Regions from separate parts of the Homo sapiens genome. Here regions 1, 2, 4, 5, 6 and 7 are each linked to region 3. The links are contacts of gene promoters, found by promoter capture Hi-C in blood cells and fetal thymus (Javierre and others, 2016). All regions are on one chromosome and are shown on one strand. The core of a region is centred on a gene start or on the middle of the fragment in contact, and the rest is flanking DNA. Distances in the headings are between cores, read along the strand shown.

Region 1 (2,848 bases), core at 7-2,506, 580 kb before region 3:
TGGTCATCCAGCCTAGTGATCCTGTGGCTGGCAGAGCTGCACTCACTGCTGCTGCCCAGCATCACGAGAGAGCATCGCACCACATATCACTCACCTAGGGAAAGATCAAAATCCAGCATTCGAAATACAGCTTCTACTGAATGCACATCGCTTTCGCATCATTGCTGAAGTAAAAAAAATTAAGTTGAACCTTCATAAGTCAGGAACTGTCATGACAATGTCATCTTTTCTTCTGGGCCCCACTCAAAACTGATAGCCTTTTAAGTTATTCAGAAAATGGGTCAGAGAAGAACATTGAAATGAGGTATACATTGCCTTCAAAATCCAAAACCACTGGGCATTGTGCCTCTTAGTGGTAGTAGGGCCCAGCTTAACATGCCCCAGACCGTTAGGCCCCCCAGAAGGTTCACTGAATGTTTGTGGGATTTATTTCCCACCCTCTGGCATACATATATCTCGTCAAGGTGGCTAGAATAGTTACTACTTCTAATCAGCATATTATCAACACATTAGATGAATGTGATGTCCTGTGGAGTAGAGAAGAGGACAAGGTCTCCACAAACTAGATGATGACAGATGACTGCGAATTGATACAGTCCTGAGTTTGGATAACGAATAGGTATTGCTAGCCCTGTCAGCTCAAAGCAAACTGCTTTTGATGGTCTTTACTAAAAATTGCTGAGGAAAAAAGCATTCATCAGATCAATAGCTGCATACTTTGCTCCAAGGGATGCATTGATTTGCTTCATGAATGAAGGCACACCTAGAATAGCAGCTGCAATTGGAGTCACAACCTAATTGAGTTTATAATAATCCACGCCATTCTCTTGGATCCATCTTGGATCTGCACAGGCTAGAGAGCTAAGCTGAATGGAAATCATCAGCTCTGTGTCTTTCAGATCATTGATTAGTGGTGGAACTAATTTCTGCAATCTCTCCAGGAATGCAGTGCTGCTTTTGGCTCACTGCTTTTATAGGTAGAGGCTAACATTTATATGGTTTGTCTTTTTTTTTTTTTTTTTGAATAGAGTTTCGCTCTTTTTGCCCAGGCTAGAGTGCAATGGCACTATCTCAGCTCACTGCAACCTCTGCCTCCCGGGTTCAAGCAATTCTCCTGCCTCAGCCTCCCAAGTAGCTAGGATTTCAGGCATGTACCACCATGCCCAGCTAATTTTGTATTTTTAGTAGAGATGGGGTTTCTCCATGTTGGTCAGGCTGGTCTCGAACTCCGACCTCAGGTGATCCACCTGCCTCAGCCTTCCAAAGTGCTGGGATTACAGGCGTGAGCCACCTCGCCCGGCCTCCATTTTTTTTCAATTCAGCATAATTTGTATTGTCTCTGAAACTCAGCTTCCTCATCTGTGAAATACAGATAATGATGCCAGCCTTACTTGTGTTCAGAGGTTGTTGTAAGACTCAAATAAGATTGTGTAAGCTAAAATACATTACAAACTGTAGAACCCTCTACAGGGTATAAGGAATAAGCGCTAGAATTATTATTACCTCCTTCCATCCCCTCTTATATAGAAAATTTAGATTATAGTCCCCTTGTTACTATTTCAATCTATGTTTTTTGTTGTTGTTTTTGTTGCAAGTACTTGGAATCCACTCAAAGTAGTTTAAGCATAAATATGGAATCGAATTTGAAAGATCCAGGAGTGTCTCAAGAAGCTCAGAATTCACAGGCAGGAAAGGCACTTGCGCATCATAAGGTGGTAGAAAAAGGAACTGAAAAGGCATTGGGAGCTGTGGCCATGAGAGTGCACTGCTCACATCTCTGAATGCAGGGGAGCGTAACATGGCCCCCTGCTGCTGGGCTATGAAATTCTGCCACTGCATTTGCACTGAGACCACCCTTCTTGTGAGCTGCTCCCACCCGGTGACTGAGTGCAGGCCTGCCATACTAAGGCAGGCCCATTTCTGGGATATGGGGACTCCTCTGACAGGTGGCTTTGGCACAAGCACACCTCATCAGCTCTTGCAGAGCTTTCTTAGAACTACACTACGTTCTAAGCTGGGCATGGTTAGGCATGTGTAGTCCCAGCTACTCAAGAGGCTGAGGGAGGAGAATTGCTTGAGCTCAGGAGTTTGAGGCCAGCCTGGACAACAAAGGGAGACTGTCTCTGAAAAAGAAAGAACTACACTGCGTTCTAACACCTCCTCAACCCAGCCCTCCTCCATTCCTGTCTCCTGGCAGGGGCTACACCTGCATTGCAGCTCTCCCAGGCTCTTCCGGCTTCCTGCTATTCGCTTCACAAGTGTTTTCCCAGCACATCTCTTGCACATTTAGTCCTATCTGGGCATCTTCTCAGAGGACTCAAACCTTAGGACAGGAACCTAAGTAATTCCTCTTTTGCAACTCCAAGTCTATGTGGACTCTTATTTTCTTTCTACTTTTCTACTTCCTTTCTGCTTTACTCTTTCACCCAACCCCTACCTAATCTTCTCAGCTTTTCCATTTATATAAAGAAAAATGTCTGACCCAGTTTCTAAATTTACAAATCCTTCCAGTTTGAGCACTAATTGACACTGATGTCTTTGAATCCTCACTTCAAGCTCCCAAAAGAAAGAATCAAGTGCCTTCACTTGGATTAGGAGCTCATCCCCGGTCCGGTTGTGGTAATTATGGCCAAGGAGACAGGTCTCATGATACAGACAGTATTACTGAGATTCACATCTCAGCTGATGACTTGCTTTGTTTAATGAGAAAATGGAAGCAACTCAGGCCAGGTGCAGTGGCTCAAGCCTGTAATCCCAGCACTTTGGGAGGCCAAGGCGGGAGGATCACTTGAGCCCAGGAATTTGAGACCAGCCTAGGCAACATGACAAAACCCTGTCTCTACCAAAA
Region 2 (2,794 bases), core at 161-2,660, 700 kb before region 3:
CAAAATATCCTTTATTGATAAAATAGCTCAGAGTTTAAAAAAAAAAAAAACACCACCTGCATGTCGCAATAAGAGGTCACAGGCAAGAACACTGGGGGTCCCATGGGGCGCACACAAGACCGGCCAGCAGAGGGTCACAGTCAGTCCCTCTCCTGGCCCAGCTCCCCACCACATCCCAGGGCGATACTCTGGCCTCAACAACCCACTGAGGACCAAGCTGGGAAGCCTCCCACACCCCAGGAAGGACTCTTTTTGGTCCCCTCCATTCTCTCTACACCCAGAAAACTCCCTCGGTGCCCTTCCAAATCTAGCAGGTCCATCTGGCCCATTCCCCCGACACCTGCCAAGCTAAGATGCCTACTGGCCCAATGTTGAAGCCAGGCCCTCTCCAAGGGAAGGCCGATAAACCTCCTTTCCACACTTCCAACTGTTCTGGGTGCCAGGTTTTGGGGTGGGACTGAGAACCAGGAAGCAGGGGTCCTCAATGCACAGCCCCATCAGCATTGCGGGGAGCAGCGTGGCTGGGTCCGAGGCAGTCCACAAGCACCCACCTGGGGGGATCAGTTGTGGTTCACAAGGACTCATTTGGGGCTTGGAGACCTGGCCGGGCACTCCAGTGGGAGGCTCCCCTAGGGGCGCACCAGGCTCTGATGCCAGTACCCCACCTGGGGGCGCTGCCACCTGTCACAGGCTCTCATCTTAGACTGTTGCCGAGGTGTGGATATTTTGAGCTGTCTTGGGGAGACAATTTGCCTCCTTGATGACAAAAGACTTATCCCCCACTGGGGAGACCCAAGCCACTAAAAACCCTCTTGGTGTTGCCGGTGAAATGTCGAAACGTTGTCATGTAGCGTAATAACTCAGACCTTTGCAGCCAGAAGAACACATTCTCAAAGAGATCCTTTAACTTGAAATAGTGATTCTGTCTGCCACTCCCGGCTTCCAGTTCGGGGTAGGAATTCACACACCCCAGGGACAGAACAAAAGTCTACAGGAAGACAGGTGGTGGTAAACACAGAGGAAAGGGATTTTTATATCACCATATAATCACATTTTTGGTTCTCTAGTGTGTTCCCCCACAGAGCTCAAAGCTTTCTGCAAAGCCTTTCATCTCCCTGCAGCAAGTAGGCAGTGAGCTATTGTCGCCCCGATTTTTGCAGGGGGTGAATGCCAGTGATCGGGGATCTCCCGTCGAGGCAGAGACCAGGCCTCCAAGACCGCCCCAGCGAGGCATCCACGTGGCCACCCACCTACCGGAGGGGTGCTGGGTAAGGAAGCCGATCCATTGTTCTGGCTTTCAAAGGAACCACAGATCCGAAAACAGGCAAAGGGGGAAAGGAGGGCCCAGAGACGATGCCACCCCATAAGCCCCCATCCCAGCGCCTGCCAGGGACCGCGAGTGCCTAGCGTGGGTGATCAGTCTTCGTTTCTTCCTCCCCCTCAGCAGCAGGCCCCACTGGGAAAAGTGGAAGGCTGGCTCCGTGCTCTTTGTGGGTGGGGGGGAGATGAAAAAGAAACGAAAACACCACAAGCAAGTGACCTGCCAGGAACACAAGGTCCTCAAGAAAGGGAAGCCCAGACATTGGTCTGGAGAGCATGGGGCTCTGGGAAGAAAGTGCTCTCTCTTCTCCTGGTCTTGGCTATGTTCCAGAGGATTTGAACCACCTCCATCGGCCTGTGCTCAGGGAGAGGGTGGAGAAGGGGTCCCCCACAGCTAAGCCGGCAAGGGGAAGCTTCACTGGGACCCTTGCTAGCAGCCCCCCTGCCCACCCCTCCCAAGGGGTTCCTAAGATGAGGCCTACAGGATCTGGGCAGGGAGCAGAAAGCCCAGGGGAGGCAGCCACACACAGCAGGGCAAGAAGCAGGGTGACCCCGGCGCCACCGCACCAACCCCACAGGGGCAGCGCAGGCGGGCTCACCAGGCCGTCTGGGTCCACGGGCGGCACAGGATCCTCCGGAAGGCACGGCGGAAGTCCTGGTTGAAGATGGTGTAGATAACAGGGTTCAGTGAGCTGTTGCAGTAGCCGATCCAGAAGAAGAACTGGAAGAGGCCATGGGGCACCTTGCAGTGCTTCGGGCAGATGGCTCCCAGGCTGTAGCTGAAGAAGAAGGGGAACCAGCAGAGCACAAAAACGCCAATGACCACAGCCAGCACGAAGGTGAAGCGCTTCTCCCGGGTCAGCTGCGCCCGTCGACGCCACCACTGCCCACCTATAGCACCCACGCCCCTGCCCAGGAGCACCTGGCCACGTAGGGTGGCCAGCACCCGGGAGCCCTGTGGCTGCTGCAGCGGGGGGCTGCAAGCTGAGGCCGGAGACACTGGCACTGCCTGGGGTTCACACTCTTCCTCCTCCTCCTCCTCCTCTTCCTCCTCTTCAGCTTCATCCTCTGGAGATGCCCCACAAACACCCTCCTTCTGGCCCTGGCCTGAGTTGGGAAGGGCAGCCCAACTGGGTGGCAAGGCCCGGGTCCCAGTATCTTCAGGGGTCTCCCCCTCCTCCTTCTCCCCAGTGGACTTCGAGTGTCCGTTGACCTCTCTGGCAGAAGCCACAGAGGCCAGGGCTGGCAGTTTGGCTGAGGCCAAAGCCCCACCATGGTCGGGTCGGGGCTGCTTGGACTCACCCTGCCCAGGCCCCCCCTTGGCCCTGGGACCTCTGCGGTTGCTGCGTTTGGCGATCAGGTAGATGCGCAGGTAGACAAGGATCATGATGAGGCAAGGAGCAAAGAAAGATCCGATGCTGGAGGCCAGGATGTACCAGGCCTCCTGGTTGAGCTTGCACTGGGGGCGCCCGCG
Region 3 (2,763 bases), core at 80-2,579:
AAAAAAGTTTTTTACAAAGCCTTTTCCTTTGGTCACTCACCACCAGCTTACTCATTTTTTTTTTTTTTTGCACATTACCTTCCACACAAGTTTTACTTTGTGGCCACAATGTGCATACTTTTTTTGATTGTTACTTTCATGACATAGCAAATTGTTTCTATAGAGTCTTTATAAAGGTCATTTAAAATGACATGTGCAGTAAGTCAAAGTCTTCTTGTGCTAGGAAATTTGAAAAAACAAAAGTGTAGAGAAAAATACAAAAATTACTGAATCTGAACATCTATAGAGAAGTGTTGTTAGCAGTTGGTTTATTTCCTTCCAATCACATACAGATCATATCTGATGGGTAAAGAATATTCCATACTGTCAACAGACCACACTGTCTTCTAAAATCGCTTCAGCAGTGAGGATCCTCTGGAATAGATCTTGTTAATCCTGAGGAATTATTCTCCCAGCGGTGAGCTATGAGAAGTGGAATCACCAGATGTAGTAATTCCTGACAGAACTGCCGCCTGCTTGTGTGGCTGAGATGCTGACCTAGGTATCAGGCTGGTCGCGCCGGAACCCAGCACCCACGCTGAGTCTTTCTGAGCTCCACTCTGCTCCTGTTAGATATTAACCACCTGAGGTAGCTGTCCAGATTCAAGGCGGTAGTGATTTTGTGTGTCTGTGTATTTATCACGGGGTCCGCGGCGGGAACGCAGGGGCTGTGTCCCACGTCCCCAAACCTCTAGTAGGGTACGGCGCGATGAACATCTTCCATAAACCTTAAACCTCCCGGCGCTCAGTCACTGGTTCTTATTTCAGCCCTCTTAGCCCCGTAGGTCGGCGCGCTGAAAACCTTTCTGGTACCTGGGGCCTTTCCTAAGAAAAAGGCACATGTCTCGCACATTTCAGTCTGGTCTGCAACTTCAGGCGCGCCAGCACCCGAGGTTCTTCCGACCGGCCGCTCCGCTCCCAAGCCGGGAACTTCCCAGAGAATTGGCTCGGCCTCCGGGCGCGGGGGACAGCATCGGGAGGAGTGGGACTCCGGGCGCCGCGCACGGGCCGAGGACAGCCGGGCTTGGGAGGCCCTGCCCGCCGCCCCGCGTCCTCCCGGCCACTGCCACCCCGCGCATCCGGAGCCGCAGCAGACTCGGCGGGGCCCGGAGCCCCACGCCCCCGGCCCGCCCCTGGCCGCCACTTGTTTACTCCCCGGCGCAGCCTAGTCCGACCCTGGGGCCCGCCCCCGCCCACCGCCTATTGGCCGAGGAGGCGCGAAGAGCCGTAACGATTGGCCCGGGGAGGCGCGGGGCGAGCGGGGTAGGCTGCGCGAGAGGCCGAGAGGGGGCAGCAGGCGATGGCGGCGGCGGTAGCTGCGGCGGGTCGGTTAGGCTGGTTGTTCGCCGCGCTCTGCCTGGGCAACGCCGCGGGGGAGGCCGCGCCGGGCCCGCGAGTGCTGGGCTTCTGCCTGGAGGAGGATGGAGCGGCGGGCGCGGGTTGGGTACGCGGAGGGGCGGCGCGGGACACGCCGGACGCCACCTTCCTCCTGCGCCTCTTCGGCCCGGGCTTCGCCAACAGCTCTTGGTCCTGGGTGGCCCCGGAGGGGGCGGGCTGCCGGGAGGAGGCGGCCTCCCCCGCGGGCGAGTGGCGCGCGCTGCTGCGCTTGCGCCTGCGGGCCGAGGCCGTGCGCCCGCACTCGGCGCTGCTGGCGGTGCGCGTGGAGCCGGGTGGCGGGGCGGCTGAGGAGGCGGCGCCGCCCTGGGCTCTGGGCCTGGGGGCGGCCGGGCTGCTGGCGCTGGCAGCGCTGGCGCGAGGCCTGCAGCTGAGCGCGCTGGCGCTGGCGCCTGCCGAGGTGCAGGTGCTGCGCGAGAGCGGCTCGGAGGCGGAGCGTGCGGCGGCGCGGCGTTTGGAGCCCGCGCGGCGCTGGGCCGGCTGCGCCTTGGGCGCGCTGCTGCTGCTGGCCAGCCTGGCGCAGGCGGCGCTGGCGGTGCTGCTGTACCGCGCGGCCGGCCAGCGTGCGGTGCCCGCCGTGTTGGGCAGCGCGGGGCTCGTGTTCCTGGTGGGAGAGGTGGTGCCGGCCGCCGTGAGCGGGCGCTGGACGCTGGCGCTGGCGCCGCGAGCGCTCGGCCTCAGCCGCCTGGCCGTCCTGCTCACTCTGCCCGTCGCGCTGCCCGTGGGGCAGCTGCTGGAGCTGGCGGCGCGGCCCGGGCGGCTGCGGGAGCGGGTGCTGGAGCTGGCGCGCGGCGGCGGCGACCCCTACAGCGATCTCAGCAAGGGCGTGCTGCGCTGCCGGACCGTGGAGGACGTGCTCACGCCCCTCGAAGACTGCTTCATGCTGGACGCCAGCACCGTGCTGGACTTCGGCGTCCTGGCCAGCATCATGCAGAGCGGCCACACGCGCATCCCGGTGTACGAGGAGGAGCGCTCCAACATCGTGGACATGCTCTACCTCAAGGACTTGGCCTTCGTGGATCCCGAAGACTGCACGCCGCTCAGCACCATCACTCGTTTCTACAACCATCCGCTCCACTTCGTCTTCAACGACACCAAGCTGGACGCTGTCCTGGAGGAATTCAAGCGAGGTAACGGCCCGGGCATGGTGCAGGGGACGCCCGTGCGAGTGCCCTCTCCCTGAAAAGGGGTGGAGAGTTATGGAAGCCTTCTGGAAAGGGTCCCACCCCTGTGGAGAGCAGTGAGACCTCTAAGGTCCCTTTTCAAGACGGTATTGGCCTTGCAGCTTGGAATGACCTTTTGAAATACTTAAAGGCCATCGATCAGAGT
Region 4 (2,700 bases), core at 166-2,665, 560 kb before region 3:
AGATTCCACTCACATTACTGATGAGGCCAGGCAGTTGGAGTAAGAAAAGTAATATGTGCAGGCTTCAAGGAGCCTGTATTGTTTCTTTGGCTGGATGGTGAGCACAAGGATGTTCATTTGATTATCCTTAAAAATGTACATCCATGACATATACTCCTATTGTCTTATGTTTCATTATACATGAATTTTACTAGTAAGGAGACATGCACATGATAAAAAGCTTCCAAGAGGACATCCCTCCCCTTGCGGATGTCCACCTGCTCCTCTCCAAAGGCAAATATTGTTGGAGGGGCCTTGTATACCCCTCCTGGAACAGCCTGTGCACACAGATGGGTGAAGTGCCCCCCTGGGGGATTTACCACACAGCTCAGATGAGGAGTCGGGGGCTCCAGAAGGTGAAGTGGCTTCCTCCAGGCCACACGCTGCAGAGCTAGATTCCAAACCATGATCAGGCTCCCCTACACTGTGCTGCTCGGAATCACTAAGTACCAGACTCGGCCACTGTATTTTTCCCTGGAGATAATCAATCAATTCCTAAAGAGTTGTGCGTGAATGAGGGGTCAGAAGCTAACAGGAATACTGTTGGAGCCATCCTCAGAGCCAGCTGCTAAGCTCACTAGAGGAACAGCTTGAAGCAATGAAATCTCTCTAAGAAGCAAAAAAGGTTTGGGTCATTAAGTCCTCACATGGGGAATTATTGGGCAAAACCTGCCAGGCATGGTGTCTAAGCTCCTGCAGCATTGCAACCATCAGAGCCTGCTCTAGGAAGTGGTCAGGACACCGGAAAGGCTTGGGACCTGGCGCCGAATCCTAGCTCTAGCAGAGACTGTGTTACTTTGAGCAAGTCCCTTGAGTGCGCTGGACCTCTGTTCTCTCATCTATCAAATGAAAACAATAACATCTGCCCCACCCACCACCAGGGCATGCTGGGTCAGCTGACACCGTGCCCATGAAAGAGCAGCCACCTGTGCTGTTATTAACCAGAGGCTGTTTCAGCTGGGCCAGTGTGTCACCTCAGCATGCCTTTCCTTCTTCTACCAAGACTTCCTTGACCACACGTCAGCCCGTGTGGACCAAGGCCTACTAAAGCCAGACTAAGGGCCTACCCTACAAGTATGACAATATGATAGAGAGAAGAGACTTTTGACCTAAAACTCCAATAGGTTTTGTTTCAATATAACTGCCTTTCCCCACTCCAAAGCTGTGAGTAAACCCTCAGGGTTAGTGAGAAAACCAAATATGAAATTCCCTTTGGGTAACGTTAACAGATACCCCAGGGGCCTGCCCCATGTAACAGGTGGGTTTTCCTCAGAGGGTCTCAGAGCACACCGGAAGAACAGGCAGTTATCCTAGACAGGCTTGGAGCCCAGCTCAGAGACTCTTCTGGAGTCAGTATCTCAATGTCTTTCTCTCCTCCCTTCCTAGACGTCGGTACAGCAGGGAAGGCAACAAGCACCTGCTCCCATGAGGGGATTGCTAAAGAAAACCCCTGAAGGTTATGTATGTAGGATTTTATTCGAGAGAGAAATGGCATGCAACGCAGGACCCTAACTTGAAATTCAAGCCAGTGGTGCAGTCCACGATGCCCTGGCTAGACACAGAACACCTCCTACCTTCCAGCTGTGCTCTGGCCTGTTGATTTTGGTAAACACTGCTTGGCGGTGCCCTCTAGTCATCAGGGAAGTAGGCAGCTGTAATAGGATCCCATGGAACTGACTTTGCTCAAGGTCACTGGTGAGTCACCAGGCTAGATTTGTTTTGAAGGTCCTGCCTCTTCCTGTCTATCTGCCCATTGCTCTAACCACTCCTGACCCAAACAGTCTGCAGGCAGAAAGGCTTAAAAGGACTTCTGTCCCACCCCGCCTCCCTTCTTGCTGGAGTCCCTCTGAATTAGAGACACTTCCCCAATGCCCCAATCCCTCTTTATGCATCTGTGCAACCTGCTCAGCGTCTCCTCACTGTGACCTTTTTAGCTTCCAGACAGGCCTGCGACACAGGCCTCTTAACAGAGCCCTCTAGTGCCCAGCCAGGTTATCCCACAGACACCAACAGGCCCCGCAGGGCCTGGCAGTGTCAGCTGCCCCAGTCACCACCTATCAGGCACACAGGCTCTCCCTGGAAGGCCCTTGATCTTCCAGTGGCTGCTGTCAATTGTGATTCACCTGACTTCTACTCCCCAACTTCCTCATTCTCCAAAGATGCTTCCTGGGGCTGTTGCCAGTGCCCTTTGGTGGCCACACTTGAGAGGCAGAAAGGCTCAGAAGAAATGACTATCTGCGGCCCCTCTTTCTGGGGTCTAGAGGTGTGAGTCTATCTCCACCCAGGGCCAGGTTGAGAGCTGTGTGAGAAGCAGGCACCGCTTGCAGGGGCAGTGGAGAAAACCCAGGATGAGGTCTTTTTTTTTTTTTTTTAAAGGAAGGGTCTCACTCTGTCACCCAGGCTGGAGTGCAGAGGCACGACGATAGTTCACTGCAGCCTTGAACTCCTGGACTCAAGTGATCCTGCTGGCCTCCTGCTTCAGCCTCCCAAAGTGCTGAGATTACAGGAGTGAACCACCACACCCAGCCCAGGATGGGTTCTTTGGAGCCAGCTTTCATTGGCTAAAGCCTCTGAAGCTTTGTGAATGACAATGGGAGAGTGGCTTTGCCCTGGGATCACCAACTAAAGCCTCAACACTGAGGCGATGAAGTTATGACAAAA
Region 5 (2,775 bases), core at 32-2,531, 680 kb before region 3:
GGCATTTCATGGTATATCATAAAATTATCAGGGTAAACTTTCACAACTGTTCCACGAGCATTGGGAAGGATCAGTCTGTTTTCAGGGTACAGAGTCACTTGTCACCCCCCTCACAACCTCCCCAGCCTGGTCTGATTCAATATCCATCCCCTCCCCCTTTGTGAGGTGCTACCCACGTGCCCCGTCACCCCTTTCTCTGTGACTCATGTTTGCTGAGAGCCACTGAGAAAGCGGTGTTTGGGGCCTGGGAAGGTCCTTGGGCCCAGGCAGCTTCCCTGGCTGCCTCACCTGGCTAACATGACAGCCCTGAAAGGTCTCGTGCTGGACGCCCTCCACCTGCGGTAGGCCTTCCTGCTCCAACCCCTAAGCCAGACTCCCACCCAAACCTCCTCTGCCCCTCCCTCGTGGGGCTCTTCCTGCCTCCTGAACCAGACCATCAAGCCCACAATGAGAGAGACCCCACCATCACCAGGATCTGATCCCCGGCGCCACACAGCCGCTGCCAGCACAGGAACCACAGCCCACCTGCCTCCAGCCTCCACTCTCCCATGGCCACAGTCTGTGTTCCTTCTGCCTGCTCACTGGCACCACTGGCACATGTCCCAGCCCCACAGTGCTGCCCTCAGCCCGTGGCCCAGCACTTGGCTTGTGCAGCCTGCTACCTTGGGGTCCCACTTTGGCTCAGCTCCCCAAGCTGGCACACAGCCCCAGTCCATGGTGGTGGTATCTGGTACATGAGACCGCTGCTAGAGTACTCAACAAGCAGGTATCATGGGCACTGCCTGCCCCATCGCCAGGGAGAGGACAGTGTCAGGGATGAGAAGCGAGACAAAGCAGGTGGTGGCGCCCTAGCTAAGGCACAACTACAGGTGGGTAGAGGAAGGCCTGGGGCCCAGAGCAGCACCCAGAGTACCACCTCCAGGTACCAGGTACCAGACAGAAGTGAGACCCCCACCTTCCCCACAGGAAGCAGGCAGGTGATGGGGAGGATGGATAGCCTCACCCATGGGGACCAGGCGACTTGGGCCCAAGCCGTGCTGTCCCCTCCCCGGCACCAGCCTGTCCTGCGTGTGGCCTGGCTCACCTGGCAGGATCTCGTTCCAGTTGACACGGATATAGCGGTCCCGGTCGGCCCGCGTGTGCTCGTGCCAGAAGCCCAGCACATGCATGAGCTCATGAAGGACAATGCCCCGGCCCTTCTGGAGACACGTGGGCGCCAGGGAGACCACCTGCATCCCTCCACTGCGCCCCACACTCGAGAAGCACCTGCAGGGTGATGAGAGCAAGTGGGGTAAGTGCCAGCCCAGATCCCTCCGGACATACAGACCTGGGCTCTCCCTCCCCACACAACACAAGATAGACAAACTCCCAACAGGCAGGCCCCACTCTGGGCTCTAGTCTCAGGTTCACCATTCTCCAGGCCCCTTTACTGCCTGGACTTCTGTGAAATGGCCATACCGGACCCCCATCACCAGCCTGGGCTGCAGGGAGGCTGCAGAAACTGATATATGAACACAGAGGACAGAAGCAGCTTACTAAGTGAGCACACCCTCCTGGTCAGCCCTAAGCCAAGGCTTTCACACAAATTGCCTCAGGCCCCTGACAAGCTAGGAAGCAGGTATCGCCACCACTCGCACCCCAGAGGGGACAGAAGAGGCTCAGAAGTTAGGGGACTTGCCAGGACTCAGTGACTCACGCACTGTCTGCCCCGCAAAACCTCCTCTCCTCACCACCTCATGGAGTCCCCCGGGAGAGGAGGGCTTTGTAAATGGAGGGTCTAGCACCGTTCCCATCCCTTTCCCACATTCCGCCCTGGAGGTCCAGCTCACACTTGGCAGACCCCTCAGGGTGGGCAGGGAGACTGAGCCCTGGAGGATGGGCCCAGGAATACATTTTAGACAATGGCCAAGTTAATTCCGGGCTGAACGCAGAAGCGAGCTGAGATACGCATCCTGGCCCCGGCACTTACCCATACATGGGGATGATGGAAATGAAGTCTCTCTGGTCCTGATAGGTGACAAACCTGATGCACGTGGAACGTTCAAACTCCGCAAGAGCCTCCAGGATGACCTGGCGGCTGGGCTCATCTGGAAGACACCACCTGGCTGAGCCCCCAGAGCCCTGGTGGTCTTTGAGCTCTACCTGAGGGTCTGGGAGCAGAGCTCTGAACTCACTCTCCCAAAATAGCATCAAGAAAGGGCAGCTTAGTGGTGCCAGGAAGAAGCTGGGCCCCAGACAGACCCTGGCTGTGTGGCCTTGGGTAGGTCACTGTCCTCTGCACCGCATGGTCTCAAGGGGAACCAGATCCCCACTCGACATACCTTCCCATCAGATTTTAACCCTCCCTACTCAGGAGACCTTCAGCAACAGAAGGGCATCTGTGGACAGGTTCTTCGGGTGGGGAGGTGGAAGGGATGTGATGGTGTAAGAGGAAAAGGGAAGAGAGGAACACCTGCCGCATTAGGAAGAAGGGGCTGAGGCAGGGAGGGAGCGCGCCATGCTCACTCACCGTACTTGCTGGAGAGCAGGAAGGGGACCTCCACGACACCACTACCACCCATGGGCCATTTGTTGCTGGTTGCTGACAGCAGTCGGAAGGGACTCTGAGGAGAGAGCAGCAGTTCAACCCCTGGGGACAGAGGCCACCCAAGCTTTGTGCCCCAAGGGTACCACACCCCAGGGCACCAGAACCCCAAAGATGTGGGAGTCAGGACCTGTGTGCATGGGAATGGGGGACCATTAGAGATGGGACAGAGCTGTGGAAGGCAAGGGGCC
Region 6 (2,707 bases), core at 202-2,701, 630 kb before region 3:
GATCAGAAAGAAATGGTAAGTCCAATATGCAAGATTTTTCCACCACCATTTGTCCAAAGACAAACACTTTTTTTTGTACCAATCTTTATGTATTTATTCACACATTTGATAAAAATGTCACAGTTAGGAGTGAAATCATTACAATGACATGAGTAACTGTACAGACAGACCCCAAGTGCAGAATCAAATTGCCCTAAGTCAGAACATGGAGCAACCGCAACTCCTTCGCACTTGTGCATGTGTGTGCGCTCGCAGACGCACACACACACACACATATTCTCTCTCTCTCTTATGCACACATCCATCCACATCCCAACAATTGCAGGTGCTAAGTTTGGACATAACCCAGGGACTCTTCCCTGACTTCTGTCAGGTCCTGGAAAGAAGAAGTAATAAATGAAAAGCAGCTGGGACTGCTCGATGCATCTCTCCTCTTCCAACAATGACGCGGAGAAGGCAAGACATACACTGGGGCAGCTACTTCCTTGGCACAAAAATGAACAGGCAACAAGAAGGTCAAGGAAGTGTTTAAGTTAGTCTCAGGTTTAAACCACTTTTCAACACCACAAAACAGTAGCAAGCAGGAAAACAAAAACAAAAACAAAAACAAAAACTCTGGCCCTCAAGACTCCAGAAAAAAGGGAAGGAGGAGGATTTAAAACTTGATCCCTATTATTCTAACAAATTGCAGCATGACCATAAGCAAAACCAGCTCGGTCAAACTGACAGCATCAGATTGTGACCTTATCTGAACAGTGTAGTTCACTTTTATTTTGGCTCTGAAGAGAGGAAGAAAAACTTTTTAGAGGAACTTAATGGTAACATAAACCAAATCTCCACTGTATTAGTATTTGAGACAAGATTACATCTATGCATTCACACAGCTTGTCTGTAGATCTGAGAGCTCCAAGGGAGTGGCCCAGCCCCCATTCCTCTGACTTTAGCCTTCTGAAAAGAACAAGTCAAACCTGAAATATGAAAAATAATACCTGAATCAAAATGGTGTTTTCTATACAATCGGACTAGGGTAGAATCCTGCTCAATTCCTCAACTCCTATTTGACACAAAAGTTAAAAAATTTTTAAACTAAATTTAAATGTGATGTTTTGAGCATCAAAAAGCTACTATCTAAAAGGATTAGTCTCCCAGTGTTCTTGGTAAATGGGGAAGGTTAGGAAGGAGGCAATGATCCAATGAATATAGAAGAACTGGCCGATTCACAGGAAACTTGCTTTGGATAAGGTGAGTCAATGGGTGATATTGTGCAGGCAGGGAGGGAAATTTCTTTGTACAAATTCATGTCCCTGGCCAGGCATGGCCCAGGAGTTCAAGACCAGCCTGGGAAACAGAGTGAAACTCCATCTCTACTTAAAAAAAAAAAAAATTAATAATAACTTCATGTCTCTAGAGATAAAAGCAAGGTGCGGACAAGGCACTTAACATAGCCAAGTATCGTTCACACCCATTCACATCATGATTGTTACCAAGAGCACTCCCAGTAGCCCCTCATTTGAGAGACTCAACTGGCCAACTATACTTTCCAGGTGGACCTGGAGAACTGAAGGAAATCCAAAGCGCTGCACAATCGATGGTGGGATTTGGAATGTCAGCAGAGGAAACTACTCAGAGAAGCAAATGGAGGTCATCCCCTTCTGGCCTGAGGTGAGAGGTTTGTTCCAGATTAGCTCAGTGAGATACCGAATTTCAAAACAGTTGGCCTGAGAATATGACAACACTCCCACAAATGTAGCCTTCTTCTGTTTTGATAAGAGCAATAAGGGCTCTGAATGAAATGGGACATCAGTTATTGAATTATCTTGCACTGGAAGTTACAGCAGATGCCTTCTAATACATGTGGCATGTCCCCCTTCTACAGCAGAGTGATAACGGACTGAGACAGGGCTAGAAGCACCTTGTCCCTTCTTATCCCAAAGCCTGTCAAGCATACTCAATCCGAGCAGGGCCACAGCTGCCCTCGTTCTTTCGCTCAGAGGACTGGCTGGTGGCCTTGGCTTCACTACTCATTTCCAGAGGCTTAGCTGAGATGTAGTCCTTTACTTTAATCTCCATATTCTTGGCTTTCAGAGTGGCCATGTGCAGCTTCTCCAGGAAATCTGGCATGCCTGTCAGGAGACGAGAATCAGGTTAAGCTGACATACAAACCAACAGTAGGCTCAAAATGAGAAGACCCTATTTCTTTGATGGTAGGGAACTAGTTCTTCCTTATAAAGATCACAACCTGACTAGCCTGTGAATAAGAGCTGCCTCCCGGAATGTGTTCCCAAAGCATGGGTTGTGAAAACTCTGTCTCAGAAAAAAAAAAAAAAGAAGAACCAGAAGAGACGTTTTATTTCCCCATTAGGAAATAGAGAAAAACAAAATGCTCAACCCAGGTTCCAGGCCCTGTATACTTGCCCTTACTTACCACTGGAAACCATCCAACTAACACAGTAGCGAGGAAACACCGTTTGGGGATTGTCACTGTATGTTAGTAAGTAGTCAAAGCCATTCTGGAAAAGAAAAACAGCAAAAATGAAGATCCCTGAATCACCAACCACAACCTCCATATCCAGTACCATAGAATAACTATGATCTGATTCTGGAGCAGGGAGTGTCATTTCTTTTTTCACCCTGTGCAGAAAAGAGTTAACACTGAAGGCCTGAGAGACTACTATCTATAGAAAGGTCTCCTTGCAATGTTGACCCT
Region 7 (2,787 bases), core at 258-2,757, 650 kb before region 3:
ACATGCTGTACCAGGTGGCCGCCTCTGCTGGGTGTCACCTTGCTTCTCACAGCCCCCTCTCTGCTCACATCCTGTTTCCACCCCTCCAACACTGCTGGGCCCCGCGCCCCCAGCCTCCGCCCCCAGCTGCTGGGTTTTCACGTGGCCTTTCCTGGGTTGCTGTAGGGGCACAGGCCTCTTATTTTTAGCTCCTTGGGGGCTGAAGGAATTTACATCTGAGTCTGCTCTCCTGAAGAGACAGACGGTTTCAAATGTGTCTAATGTGGTCTCCCGGGCAGCCTCAGCCTAGGCCAGCACTAAGGCAGAGGGGAAGGAGTGAGACGGCCAGCCCAGCATCCGGAGGCACACCATGTGGCCTCAGGCAGGGCCCGCAAGCCAGCTGAGCCCCACTTTCCTCAGCTACTAAGTGGGAACCCTGGGGAGGTGACCCCACTGCTGTGAGCCAGGAATAAGGATGCCCATGGGATGGGCAGGGAGGCCCTGGAGATGCCCATGTCAGGGGAAGGAGCCCTCACTCTGGGCCGGAGCCTCACCTACCACACCACCCTGCACAAGTCTATCACACATTTGTTATTTTCCCTAATTATCCCAGAAATCCCCCAACACTAGGAAATTTGGAACACACAGAAAAGATGGCAGAAGACAGAAATGCGTTGCTCATAACCCATCACAGTTCCTATGTGGAGCTGCCCCTCTCTGAGCCCTTTGCAATGCCCTCAGAACGAAAGGCAGGAGGGGAGGTCCCTTACTGAAAACAAAAGCCTACTGTTAGCCCAATAGGGCCTGGCAGGGAGCCCCAGGCAGTGTCCACCAGCCCTCCTCAGGCAGCATCAAGGGACCCAAGCCCCTCTCCCCCTTCCCTTCCTCCTTCCCGGCTGATCCCAGCAGCCCTTCCCTGGTGGCGGCGCTCCCAGAGCCCTGCAGTTTTTCCCCTCCCGAGGTGGGTCCAGGGATGGGCTGTAAGGCCGGGCCTGCCCCCAGGAGACCGGAGACCGCAGCACACATCCTGCAGTGAATATGACTGGTAGTCGCTGGTCCCAACCTCCTCCCTACCAGACGCAGAGGCTTACCCTACACAGACCTCTCACACTTGGCAGAGCCATGTGACTTACTCCAGCCAATGAAACACCACCTCCAGACTCAGGCAATAAAAAGCCCTGTGCGATTTTCCCACTTGCTCATCCTCTGCCATGTCGATGGAGGAGATCTTGAGTTCTCCAGGCACCGCAGCTGCATGACAGCCAGTCGGCCGCATCCGAAGGGCTCTGCCCACTTTTCGACTGGTGAAAACCCACTCCCTGTGGCCCTGTTCCACCACACCCCCAACTTCCATCCTATTTTCCAGTCTATTAAATGGTGGTGGCCACCCCACCACCACCTAGGTCCTGAGTTTCTCCTCAACCTTCAGACAGTTAGTGACATGTACGCTGTTCACTCCACTCCCATGGACCCTATTTATAATTTCATAAATAAAATAAACTATTATGAAATTATATTTTGGCATATACAAGGAATTTTTACAAATCAAGAAGAAAACCAGGGGAACTACAGGAAAAATATCAACATAAAAATGGATATAGTCGACCGGACGTAGTGGCTTATGCTTGTAATCCCAGCACTTTGGGAGGCCAGGGTGGGTAGAACACCTGAGGTCAGGAGTTCGAGACCAGCCTGGCCAACATGGTGAAACCCCGTCTCTACCAAAAATACAAAAAATAAAAATAAAAAATTAACCAGGCATGGTGGCAGGTGCCTGTAGTCCCTCCCAGCTACTCGGGAGGCTGAGTCAGGAGAACTGCTTGAACCCGGAAGGCAGAGGTTGCAGTGAGCCAAGATGGGGCCACTGCACTCCAGCCTGGGTGACAGAGTGAGATTCAGTCTCTAAGAAAAAAAAATAAAAAAGGATTATAGTTATAATAGGCAATTCATGCAAGGGAAATCCCAATGGTTAACAAGTATGACAAGAAATATTTAACTCCATAGTAACTAGAGAAATCAAAATTATAACTGAGATATCCCTTTTATACCATCCAGATTGGAAAAACTAAATAAAAATAAAAAATAAAAGGCAGATAATATTGACCAGGCATGGTGGCTCACTCCTGTATTCCTAGCACTTTGGGAGGCCAAGGCAGGTGGATCACTTGAGGCCAGGAGTTTGAGACTAGCCTGGCCAACATGGTGAAACCCTGTCTCTACTAAGAATACAAAAATTAGCTGAGAGTGGTGGCACATGCCTTTAATCCCATTATTTAGGAGGCTGAGGCAGGAGAATTGTTTGAGCCTGGGAGGTGGAGGTTGCAGTGAGACGAGATTGTGCCACTGAACTCCAGCCTGGGTGATGGAACAAGACTCTATCTAAAAAATAAAAAATAAAAAAAAAATAATGTAGGGAAAGCAACATGACACTATTGAGTAAAAACGGAGTATACTGGCTACCCCCATATTAGCAAATCTTTCTGTCTCTTTCCTCTTAAAAAACAAAAAAACAAAAACACATTTCCTATAATGTATATGGAATAAGGCGAGGGAGAAAATAATAGGGGAGTGAGACTCCCATTCTGCCTCGTACGAAATAAGAAATAATGTTGGAGACATACTAAATGTCATCTAAGACCCTTAACTCACACCACATATAAAAATTAACTAACTGGAACAGATCAAAGACCTAAATGTAAAATCTAAAATTATGCAATGTATAGAAGAAAAACATAGGAGAAAATATTTATATCTTGAACTGGACAAAGTTTTCTTAGAACACAAAAAAGCACAGGCAGGGTACGGTGG

What was found. The method cuts DNA at HindIII sites, captures the fragments that hold promoters and counts their contacts. A CHiCAGO score of 5 or more calls a contact.
Region 1: a fragment that was not itself captured here is called in contact with the fragment with the promoter of CNNM3 in region 3 in 3 of 17 cell types (activated CD4 T cells, naive CD4 T cells and neutrophils); the score reaches 7.5 in activated CD4 T cells.
Region 2: a fragment that was not itself captured here is called in contact with the fragment with the promoter of CNNM3 in region 3 in 1 of 17 cell types (total CD8 T cells); the score reaches 5.0 in total CD8 T cells.
Region 4: a contact is called between a fragment that was not itself captured here and the fragment with the promoter of CNNM3 in region 3, in 1 of 17 cell types (total CD8 T cells). The highest score is 6.0, in total CD8 T cells.
Region 5: a fragment that was not itself captured here is called in contact with the fragment with the promoter of CNNM3 in region 3 in 1 of 17 cell types (fetal thymus); the score reaches 5.5 in fetal thymus.
Region 6: a contact is called between a fragment that was not itself captured here and the fragment with the promoter of CNNM3 in region 3, in 1 of 17 cell types (total CD8 T cells). The highest score is 5.8, in total CD8 T cells.
Region 7: a fragment that was not itself captured here is called in contact with the fragment with the promoter of CNNM3 in region 3 in 2 of 17 cell types (non-activated CD4 T cells and total CD8 T cells); the score reaches 6.0 in non-activated CD4 T cells.

What each region holds. Positions count from the first base shown.
Region 1 is chr2:96,232,241-96,235,088 of GRCh38, forward strand. All of the region lies in intron 1 of STARD7-AS1 (STARD7 antisense RNA 1), which reads left to right. Among named protein-coding and RNA genes, the nearest start is that of SNORA112, 19 kb to the left of the region's middle. RefSeq lists enhancers at 1,782-1,851, 1,862-2,011. The HindIII fragment of the contact is 9,545 bases long and covers 1-2,848 here.
Region 2 is chr2:96,112,882-96,115,675 of GRCh38, forward strand. It overlaps ADRA2B (adrenoceptor alpha 2B), which reads right to left. Exons shown (of 1, transcript NM_000682.7): 1 at 1-2,794. The coding sequence ends at 1,916. Among named protein-coding and RNA genes, the nearest start is that of ADRA2B, 2.3 kb to the right of the region's middle. The HindIII fragment of the contact is 642 bases long and covers 1,090-1,731 here.
Region 3 is chr2:96,814,939-96,817,701 of GRCh38, forward strand. CNNM3 (cyclin and CBS domain divalent metal cation transport mediator 3) reads left to right here and starts at 1,330. Exons shown (of 8, transcript NM_017623.5): 1 at 1,330-2,564. The coding sequence starts at 1,340. RefSeq lists an enhancer at 477-596 and silencers at 937-1,916, 1,927-2,066, 2,077-2,186. The HindIII fragment of the contact is 9,370 bases long and covers 1-2,763 here.
Region 4 is chr2:96,258,882-96,261,581 of GRCh38, forward strand. All of the region lies in intron 2 of TMEM127 (transmembrane protein 127), which reads right to left. Among named protein-coding and RNA genes, the nearest start is that of TMEM127, 5.8 kb to the right of the region's middle. RefSeq lists enhancers at 1-2,471, 720-1,653, 1,654-2,585, 2,059-2,308. The HindIII fragment of the contact is 2,395 bases long and covers 219-2,613 here.
Region 5 is chr2:96,131,456-96,134,230 of GRCh38, forward strand. It overlaps ASTL (astacin like metalloendopeptidase), which reads right to left. Exons shown (of 9, transcript NM_001002036.4): 4 at 2,510-2,603; 5 at 1,970-2,087; 6 at 1,085-1,266. Among named protein-coding and RNA genes, the nearest start is that of ASTL, 5.7 kb to the right of the region's middle. RefSeq lists enhancers at 1-104, 1,107-1,607. The HindIII fragment of the contact is 2,736 bases long and covers 1-2,649 here.
Region 6 is chr2:96,184,792-96,187,498 of GRCh38, forward strand. It overlaps STARD7 (StAR related lipid transfer domain containing 7), which reads right to left. Exons shown (of 8, transcript NM_020151.4): 7 at 2,426-2,510; 8 at 68-2,123. The coding sequence ends at 1,939. Among named protein-coding and RNA genes, the nearest start is that of STARD7-AS1, 22 kb to the right of the region's middle. The HindIII fragment of the contact is 6,166 bases long and covers 1-2,707 here.
Region 7 is chr2:96,163,869-96,166,655 of GRCh38, forward strand. No RefSeq gene overlaps it. Among named protein-coding and RNA genes, the nearest start is that of DUSP2, 20 kb to the left of the region's middle. RefSeq lists enhancers at 1-9, 890-939, 1,200-1,279. The HindIII fragment of the contact is 5,740 bases long and covers 1-2,787 here.